Regions from separate parts of the Homo sapiens genome. Here region 2 is linked to region 1. Evidence: promoter capture Hi-C in human tissues and cell types (Jung and others, 2019). All regions are on one chromosome and are shown on one strand. Each heading gives the region's core, a stretch centred on a gene start or on the middle of the fragment in contact. The rest is flanking DNA. Distances are from core to core; before and after follow the strand shown. Region 1 holds the start of CRYBG3 (crystallin beta-gamma domain containing 3). Region 2 overlaps RIOX2 (ribosomal oxygenase 2).

Evidence for each region. The method cuts DNA at HindIII sites, captures the fragments that hold promoters and counts their contacts. A contact is called where the count stands out against the background at its distance.
Region 2: a contact is called between a fragment that was not itself captured here and the fragment with the promoter of CRYBG3 in region 1, in 1 of the 25 tissues and cell types used here (hippocampus).

Annotation. Positions count from the first base shown.
Region 1 is chr3:97,819,920-97,824,850 of GRCh38, reverse strand. It overlaps CRYBG3 (crystallin beta-gamma domain containing 3), which reads right to left and starts at 2,840. Exons shown (of 22, transcript NM_153605.4): 1 at 2,496-2,840. The coding sequence starts at 2,644. It overlaps LOC101929298 (a long non-coding RNA gene), which reads left to right and starts at 3,075. Exons shown (of 3, transcript XR_427389.3): 1 at 3,075-3,164. RefSeq lists a silencer at 2,694-3,063. The HindIII fragment of the contact is 4,138 bases long and covers 469-4,606 here.
Region 2 is chr3:97,955,776-97,960,706 of GRCh38, reverse strand. It overlaps RIOX2 (ribosomal oxygenase 2), which reads left to right. Exons shown (of 10, transcript NM_153182.4): 4 at 1,528-1,656. Among named protein-coding and RNA genes, the nearest start is that of RIOX2, 14 kb to the left of the region's middle. The HindIII fragment of the contact is 6,932 bases long and covers 1-4,931 here.

The DNA of each region.
Region 1 (4,931 bases), core at 1,591-4,090:
CAGAACTCTGGGAGTTTTTGAGTTTCCTATGAAAACTTCAATTGCAGTTTTCCTTTTTATCATCTAAAATAAATTAATATAAGCATTTCCTGGAAATGGTCAACCACCTAATATGAGTACAATCAAGCAATTTGAGTGCCTACGCCTAAGTTGGGATATACAATAGTGTTGATGCTAATAGGCCTTCTTTAATTGTGACAAAGAAAGAATACATAATGAAGTGTTGTCACCAACTGAAGCCCATATAAATCACAGCACACCATAAAAACAAAGATTTTCCTATGGTTCAAAACAGTAAAATATTGGAAGACCTGTATCAAGGCATGGCAGCTCCCCAAAGACCTGGTGTTTGTCCCAGTACGCATTTTGTGAGCAGGCAAAAAAACAGTTTCAGGATGTTGTAAATTCGACTTTTACGGGTCTCATAATTATGTTTTAGTTTATTTTTTAATTTTGTACTCCTCTTCATCTAAAATCATCACTACAGAAGGTATACCCAGCTCTCATAATGATAAAAGTTTTTATGCCCACAAAGAGAAATAGCCAAAATACTCTTTCATTTTGAAATAAGATCACAGTGACAAATTGCAATTCTGTTTCCAATCTTGTTAACATCAGGGTGTTGTGTTACTGGGACATTCAGTACTATAAAGCGGTTCCATTTGTTTTATTAAACTTTCAATAAAGGCTTTGTGTTTGTTTATGCCCTTGAAATGAAAGATTTAAGCTCATTTAAAACAGTAAAACACCCACATAAAGGGTCATCTGCTATCCCCCTAACATCTGGCAAGTTCCAAAAAAGATGAGAACAAAATTAGCGTTGATATAAGCACAATTAAAATCTTCATCGTTGAAAAGCCATAATTTGTGCCAATCTGGAGATGATGAGAATAGAGAAGTGGTAGGTGAACAAGGAACTAGTTGCTGGAGGGGTCAGCTCCAGTCAGTAAAGAAATTAGAATTGAGAAGTGCCTTAAAAAGCCAAAATAGGGCAGAGAGGCAAGCAGGATTTCAGGCCATTACTGACATGAGCCTGAATTTGACCTGCTTACTCCTTTCTAACACTGACTCTCAAGTTCCCAACTTTTGCTGCGCCTACTTGGGATTTCCTTGCAGACTGCGTTCATATTATCCAAGACTGTTAGTGCTGTTACGGCGGTGGCAGGCACCACAGGCTGTCTGCCCACACCAACAGAACTAGCTGACACCCTGGATGAGATCTGTCAGACTTAAAAACTATTTTTAACTTCTGTGTAACTTTGAATTTTAAACTCTCAACAGTCAGAGCAATAATAGCTGAAACGTCCCAGGAGAATAACCACTCAATTATCGTAGGAGCTTTCTTGGAAACATGTGGCATGTTATTAACAGACGGTCATAATGAAAATGTTTCACAAGCGGGGAAACCGAGGAACACACAAACGACTAAAATCACATCACAAAATCTGAATACTAATGGAATTGGCTCACTCTCAGTTCTGTTTCCTATCCATTTTTTTTAAGCCCACCAGGAAATCTTGAGTCCGAAGTAAACACGGTTTTCTGGAGTGTGTCCTTCCAATGACAATGGTCATTCTAGTGCAATCTCGGGAGAAGACAGTGTAAGCCTCTCATAAGTTTAAGAAAGCGAGCTGCGTTTTACTTAACCCCTCTTTCTTCGGGGGGATGAAAAGACTCAGAAACAGGCATTTAAATGAGGCATGTCTAAAATTTTTTGATTTTTGAACATGGGAAAGTGAAGGAAAGATAAAAATATTACAGAGAAAGGGTACATTTTGATTACTGAAACCAAGACAGCTGGAAACCTGATTTCCAGAATCTGTTTGGGAACTTGAGGCAGATGTTTCTAGGAGAGATGAGAAATAAAGAAGGGTGGCGTCATTTACATGTCCAGTCCATTTTGGTGAAAGTCTTGGGAACGCATTATCACAATTCCTTTTAAAAATCATTTTGAGAAAATTTAAATAAGATGGCAAAAATACCAGCTGAGGGGGTGACGCCCCAAAGCTTTACCTTTTCCACTTTTGCCCCGATCTCCTCCCACACAAGTGGTGCTGGGATCGCGCCCCCAATTCCCCTGGCCGACGGCTCCGCTCGGCTCACAAGTGTTTCCCATTACTGCAGGCGGGACGCCGGGGAAATCGCTTTTGCCACAGAACTTGGAGAGTAGAGCGTGTGTGGAACGGGAACCCAATCACGTCCGGGCAGGGGAAAGTGGGAAAGGAAGAGCGCGGAGCCAGGCGGGGATCGGGGGATATGCGTCCGGCTGCCGGGCAAGAACTTCACCCCGATTTAACCTGCAGAGGAGAGGCGAGTAGTGCGGCACGGGAACGGGGCAAGGAGGAGGAAACTTTAGCAATGGAGGAAGGAGAACAGAAAGTGGCGAGCGAACTGCAGCCTGGCCCAAGAGCGGCCCGCTGCCGGCGGTCAGGCCGGGAGCCTTCATCCCGCGAATATGTGCAGGGCCCCCCCGCGACCCCCTCCTCGACTCCCACCTGGCAGCGGACCGGCCTGGAGCTGGAGGCGGGCTCGTCCCCGGCCTCTCCTCCTCTTCCTCTTCCTTGTCCCGGGAAGGACTTCGGGGAGCGAAGAACCGGGAGAAGCTGTGCCAGGGGGCGCTGCCCCTTCTGCGGCCGCTGGACATTTCCCGAGGGGGCCGCTGGCCCGGGGCTGTCTGAAGGGAACGGCCTAGGTGTTGCCTGGTGCCCGGAGCCCGACCGGGCGCCGCGGGATGCGGCTAGGGCAGACCGACTCGACGCGAGCTGCCAGCGCGGCTCAGTCTCTCTCGGGCAGGAGAAGTGCGGACGCGACGCGCTCCTCGCGCGGCAGCTCCTCACGCCGCTGCGGCTGCTCCTCCTCCCGCCCTCGCCCGGCGCGGCCCGCCCCACCCCGAGGAGGAGCCAGTGGCCGCGGCACCGCCCTGAGCCGGGCGCAGCCGCCACCGCTGGGGCGCTACGTGGTCCCCCGAAGGCGCCGGCCTGAGAGCCTGAGGGGAGTCGCCCAGCGTGCGACGCTAGGCTCGGGCTTACGGCTCAAACAAGTTCAGGCTGCAGCCTGTTGGGCTTTGCCTTCAATTACTTTCTGTGACCGTTGTGTTTTCTATTCTACAGTCAGAGCACAGAAACGGTTTTCTTCGGGCTTTTGAAAGAGGTTTATGAACTAAGGTTTGTGAAAACACTTGGCAAACTGCAGTACCGGGGCGCCCCGGACTTGCTGGGAGCTAAGAAACAGCTACCGCAAATACAGCTCCAACCCTGAGGGCGAAAGTCGCGTTAGCACAGAACCGGGCGGCGGGAGGGAGAAGGGGGTACCTGTCAGGCGGTCACCACCTCCCGGCGCGTTCTGCTGGCTTTCTGTGGTGTGACTTTTCCTAACCGCGCTGTGCTTCAGACTTTTCACACGCCATACTTCCCTGCGAACTCTTTCAAAAACGGCACTGATCAAAAAGTATGATTTCAAGCTTGTCAATGCTGCAACATATTTTGCAGTCGTTACACAGATGCCACTGAAATCTGGGAACCAAAGGGTGCTTAAGACTTGTTTTAAGTCTAAGTACAGTGGTATGGATTTTTCTTGGTTTTTCATACCCTATAGCAGCTAGTACAGGAGATACTGAGAGGCCCATTCACCCCAAGTGTTTTGTTTTTGTTTGAAGGCAAGCTGCCCCTGGAGTAGACGTCAAGGAAGTGATATGGCTTTTGTTCATTAAAAAATGTATACAAGTAAATGAGATAAAAATGAAATGTCCACAGCAGAGGGGAGCCTTGGAGTAATCTCCCCTCTGGCTTTCGGGTGCTGGAGGAGAAGGTTGCTCATAAGTAGATTGCATACCTATAAGCCCCAAGTCCTTTCAGCACCTGCTGGAGGCTATTGAGCCTCCCTGCCTCCCCACGCTGCCTCCCAGAAGCCCTCCAGCTCCTACTAACTGCAATAGAGCCAAGACACTCATTCTCATTTGTTCTGGCAGGATTTAACCCATTAAAGTTCAGTCAGCCCGATTTCCATCAATCGGGTTCATCTCAGTCTATCCCTCAAGATTAATCCTTTTTTACTCTTTGGTAAATTTTTCCTATTTCTCTGTGAGCCTAGTCTGAGAAAATAGAAAAAGACTAAGATAATAGACTAGAATAAGACAAGTTCCCAATTCTAGCTTTATTATTTTATAAGAGAATCTCCACTGAAGACCCACTTACCAAAAAGCCCAAAGAGAGTAATAAAGCAAACTGTTTCTTCCAGCTAAAAGGCCCAAATGATAATTTGTCTTCCCAACGTATTATTGAATGACTATCACATTTGTCCCTGACTTGTTCTGTGATCAAACCAGGCCCCAGTGCCTACCCAGAGGGTACTTCGTTCAGGAAGTTTTTCTTGGAATAAAAATGGGGGGGAGTCAATAGGATTTAATTAATGAATTATGGTTTTAACTAATAATATATCTAACAATACTCTGATCTCCACTCGGTAGCACAGCAAAGCACTTAAGTGAATGGTAAATACAAATAATGCCATGTTTACACTAAGACAAATTGCGTCTATGACAAAATAGCTTAAAGTCATAAAACAATGACCATTGAATTTTCCTTCATTTGCTTTCTGAGCACTTATTAGTTTTCTATATGTCCTACATTGTTATAACCTGAACTCATATGAACAAATTTCTAAATACTAAATTCTAAGATTGCATTAGGAAGCCTGTAAAAATGTCAAATTTTAGAGCTGTAAGGATCTTAGAGATACTAATTTAGCACAGTGTCATTAATTCACTGATCCAGTTATTCCCCGACGTTTAGTGAGTGCCTGCAGTAGAAGCACATCTACAGTGAAGCCGATGAGGCTCAAGTTTCTTGGCTCCCTGCTGGCACAGTCTCTTCCAGTGTGAACTCAGCAATGGGATCCATGGCCAGTTTTATCAAATTTACAAAAGTAAATGT
Region 2 (4,931 bases), core at 1,476-3,975, 140 kb before region 1:
ATGAATATCCAGTGTCAGGATTCACGATTCCGTTTTTAAAAATAAAACCCAGTAGTGGCAACTTTTGTTTAACTGTGGAATGACATGCATTTCTCATCTTTCATTTTTATTTTTTATCGGAAACTTGACCCTTGTGCAGTGTGGGGGTTAGTGGTGCCAACACCTCATGCAGTCAAAAATCTGCTTGTAACTTTTGACTTCCCTAAAACTTAACTACTAGTAGCCTTCCATTGCCTAGATATCTTACTGATAGCATAAATTGGTTAACACTTATTTTGTATGTTATATGTGTTATATACTTTATTCTTCAGTAAAGGAACCTGGAGAAAAGTTATTAAAATTATAAGAAAGGGAAAAGTATTTTTAATATTGTGTTTATCAGTACCGTAAGTTTACATCATTTGTTTACAAGCTGAATCGTCCATCTGAAATGGTGGGTAGCCACAGCTGCAGGCCTTAATCTACAATACACATCAAGCAATTCAACTTTTTCTTGTAACGTTACGACTTTTTTCTGTTTCTCGGGAGTACTTGCAGTAGCAGTAGTGGCACATCATATGGGTCCCATGGTGTTATTCACGGCTTAAGTTGTTGCACTAAACATGATGAAAAATACACAAGAACTGTTGAGAGATCATTTTTTACTGTGATACACAATTCACTGGAGAGAGGAACTGCTCATGTGGAGATAATTAGCATCACACTTGAGCTCGTGGCAATAGCAACAGGAGGTAGCACAAAATTATTACAGTAGTACAATATGTACTAAAGTTAATTTTATTCAGCTATTCCATATTGCATCTTTAAGTTTGTTTACATTTCTTGACTGCAAATGGTGGTCTAGAAGTATTTGTATAGGTAAGTTTTGATAAATTTTAACCTTCTGTAATAGATTTGTGAATATTTTATGGTAGTAGATGATAGACTAGTATCTACATATGTTTTTATATTTGATGCATTTATGACATTCTTAATTCTTTTGATATTTTTCATGTTTTTCAAATTGTTGCAAATCTCCTCCAAATTTTCCAATATAATTTATTGAAAAAAATCAGCATATAAGCGGACCTGCACGGTTCATCCCCATGCTGTTAGGCCAGGCGTGGTGGCTCACGCCTGTAATCACTTTTGGAGGCCCAGGTGAGAGGAGTGCTTAAAGCCAGGAGTTCAAGACCATTCTGGGCAACAAAGTGACACCCCATCTCTACAAAGAAGATAAATTAGCTGGGAGCTGTGGTGCATGCCAGCTTCCCAACTACACAGGAAGCTAGGGCAAGAGGATCATTGGAGCCCAGGAGTTTGAGAGGCTGCAGTGAGCTGTAATTGTGACACTGCACTCCAGCCTGGCCAGGAGAATGAGACTGTCTATAACAACTAAAAAAAAAAAAAAAAAAAAAAAACCTGTGTTGTTCAAGGTTCACCTATATATTTGTCTATTAGCCCCTTAGAGGGCTAATAGTCCGGAAGCACTTTGTGTGTGAGTTGTCAGGAAGCTCTCTGATGCTCCTGGGCCTTGTGGGTCTCTAGGTTTTCATCCTGCAGCTGGAGGGAGAGAAACACTGGCGCCTCTACCACCCCACTGTGCCCCTGGCACGAGAGTACAGCGTGGAGGCCGAGGAAAGGATCGGCAGGCCGGTGCATGAGTTTATGCTGAAGGTATGTGATAACCGTTGTGGGCACCTCATTGTTAGAGCCATTGTGGTTTCCCCTATTGCTAAGACAAGTTCAGGCTCAAGGTTTAGAGTTCGTGTGATGGTCCCCGTGGGAATATATCCCTGGGTTTCAGGGCAGGGTGCTTCTCATTGCTGTCAGCCAGCACATGTAATTTCTGAAGGAGTCTTGGTGGTTTGCACTTGGAGAAGTGGGTTAAGGAAGTATTAAGTTCATTTCCCAAATAACCTGTTTTCATGTACAGTTCAAGTCCAACAGGAAGAAAGAGAATTCAGTGAACCACTGACTCCTCTAGAGGAAAAATGGAAGCTCTGGCCTTGGGCAGCTTCTCCACATCCAAGACGATGGTCAGCACAGGGCTGGAAGTTGCTTAGGCAGAACATAGCCAGGGATCCCTTAGTTTTTTTTGTTGTTGTTGCTAAAATTCCAGTGTGACTCATTTTCATCCTGGTTATATGTCAGGCTATCTCTGTGCCCCCTGCATAGTTACCAGAACAGTAGTAATCAGGAAAGTTCTTGAGGATTCCTTCTCTGGGGATTCAGGTGGCTTAATCATGTGCAGGTTCCTTGGCATCTTGCTGCTGAGAAAATCTGTCTTTGAGCAGTTAACATCGATGGGAACATAGCCAATCCCCAGCAGAAGAGGTTGTTGAGGAAAAGAACGTTACATGGATAGGAGTAGTTCCATAATTCAACTTTATACTCTTTCTTAAAACATGTAACTTAATTTCCTTTAGCAATAAAACAATAGTTATTTTAAACCATTCCAAAGATTCTACCAACCTGACACATTTGCATATACTTATTGTTTTTCTTGTGTCTCGAAGTTATAATTAGCCTGTTTCTTACTCAATGCCTTGTGTGTTTCTTGATTTCAAAATCCTTACCTACCTCCCAGTAACTAAGGGAAACAATCTTGCTGTTTAGGATGGGTGCCTATATTACAGGAGACTTAAATCAATAAACAACAGTAAAGGTAACCTTACTGGTTTTTTTTATGCTTTTAGTCAGTGGTCATCAAACTGTGGCCCATGGACCAGAAAATCTGGCCTGCTGCCTGTTTTTGTAAGTAGTTTATTGGAACACAGCCACACCCATTCCTTAATGTCCTGTGTTCATACTACACCAGCAGAGCGGACTAGTTGCCACAGAGATCACATGGCCCGCAAACCAAAAATACGTACTGTCTTTCCATTTGGCTCTTCACAGAGGTTGCCAGCTTTGTTGCATCATGTTTACATAGATTCACGGTTGGTTATCTTTAAAGACTAAGCCATCTGTACTCTCGGAAGTCAGGGCTGAGTTACTCAGGCCGGTGACCTGGCTACTTGCTCTGCCCGAGAAGGTCAGGCTTCATAGTGGCCTTTAAGTGTAAAGGGTGTGGATTCTTTGTATTGTTGCCATGCCCATGCCCATTAAACAGTCAACACAGAGTCCATTAGGAGATGCACTGAGTCTCCTGGACAGAGAAAGACCATGTTGTACAGTATTGTTCAAGTGTGTATGTGTATGTGCATGTCATTTTTTTTTTTTTTTTTTTAAGACAGAGTCTCACCCTGTCACCCAGGCTGGAGTGCAATGGCGTGATTTCAGCTAGCTGAAACCTCCGCCTCCCGGGTTCAAGCAATTCTCCTGCCTCAGCCTCCCGAGTAGCTGGGATTACAGCTGCCTACCACCATGCCCGGCTAATTTTTTGTATCTTTAGTAGAGACGGTTTCACCATGTTGGCCAGGCTGGTCTCAAACTCCTGACCTCGTGATCCACCTGCCTCGGCCTCCCAAAGTGCTGGGATTACAGGCGTGAGCCACTGCGCCTGGCCCACATTTGAGCTTTTAACCAGTGGGCCTCTTCAGGCGAAACCTTGTGTCAATGCCCAATGATGAAATAGAAAGGCTTAGTGGCTGTGGTTGAGGGATGGGCATGGGAGGGTGACAGTGGGGGTCTTGGAGCCCTTATCCGCTTCTTTCCCCTATGCTAGTGGCAGCCCGTGCAGTTCATCTGCAGACCCAGACTCCCAGGATGAGATCACGCCTGTGATGGAAACACCACTCTGTGGCTCAGGGATCTGACAGATCTGAGTTTGAATTCAGCTGCTGTCACTTATTAGCTGTATGTCCTTGGTCAAGTTATTAATCCAAGTCTCAGTTTCCTCTTTATTAAAACAGAGATCATGATATTTACCTTGCAGGCTATGAGGATTGAAAAATATTATTTTGCTGCCTCCTTTACAATAAATCTTTAGGCGGGGTGCGGTGGCTCACGCCTGTAATCCCAGCACTTTGGGAGGCCGAGGCAGGTGGATCACCTGAGGTCAGGAGTTCGAGACCAGCCTGACCAACATGTAGAAACCCCATCTCTACTGAAAATACAAAATTAGCTGGGCGTGGTGGCTCATGCCTGTAATCCCAGCTACTCAGGAGGCTGAGGCAGGAGAATCACTTGAACCCAGGAGATGGAGGTTGCAGTGACCGAGATCACGCCATTGCATTCCAGCCTGGGCAACAAGAACGAAACTCCGTCTCAAAAAAAAAAAAAAATCTTTAGAGGCAATATCTGTATGTCTGTCTGAGTTTTTCTGTTGCTTCTTGTCAAATTACCACAAACTCAATGGTTTAAAACAACATAAATTCATTATTTTATGCTTCTGAAGGTCAGGAGACTAAAAGGGATCTCTCTAGGGTTGCTGTACTGCATTCCTTCAGGAGGCTGTAGGGGAGAATGTTTACTTACGTTTTCCAGCCAGGAGGGTGGGGCAAATGTGTATGAAATGAATGAAATATAGTCATGTGCCAGTTGACATTTTAGTCAACAACAGACTGTATATGTGACAGTTGTCCCATAAGGTTATAATGAAGCTGAAAAATTCCTATCACCTAGTGTTATTGTAGCCATTGTAAAATGTTGTAGTGCTACGCATTACTCACGTGTTTGTGGTGATGCTGGTCTAAACAACCCTACTTCTTTGCTAGTCATATAAAAGTGTACAGTAGGGCCCTAGGCTCTCCCATTCACTTACCATCACTGACGGGCTCACCCAGAGTAACTTCCAGTCCTATGTAGATGTACCATTTATTATTGTTTATACTGTGTTTTTTCTTGTCCACGTTTAGATATATTTAAGTACACAAACACCATTGTGTTACAGTTTTCTACAGTATTCAGTACAGTCACATGCTGTATAGGTTTGGAGCCTAGGAGCAGTAGGCTGTACCATGTAATGTAGGTAGTACACTATACTACCTAGATTTGTAAGTACACTG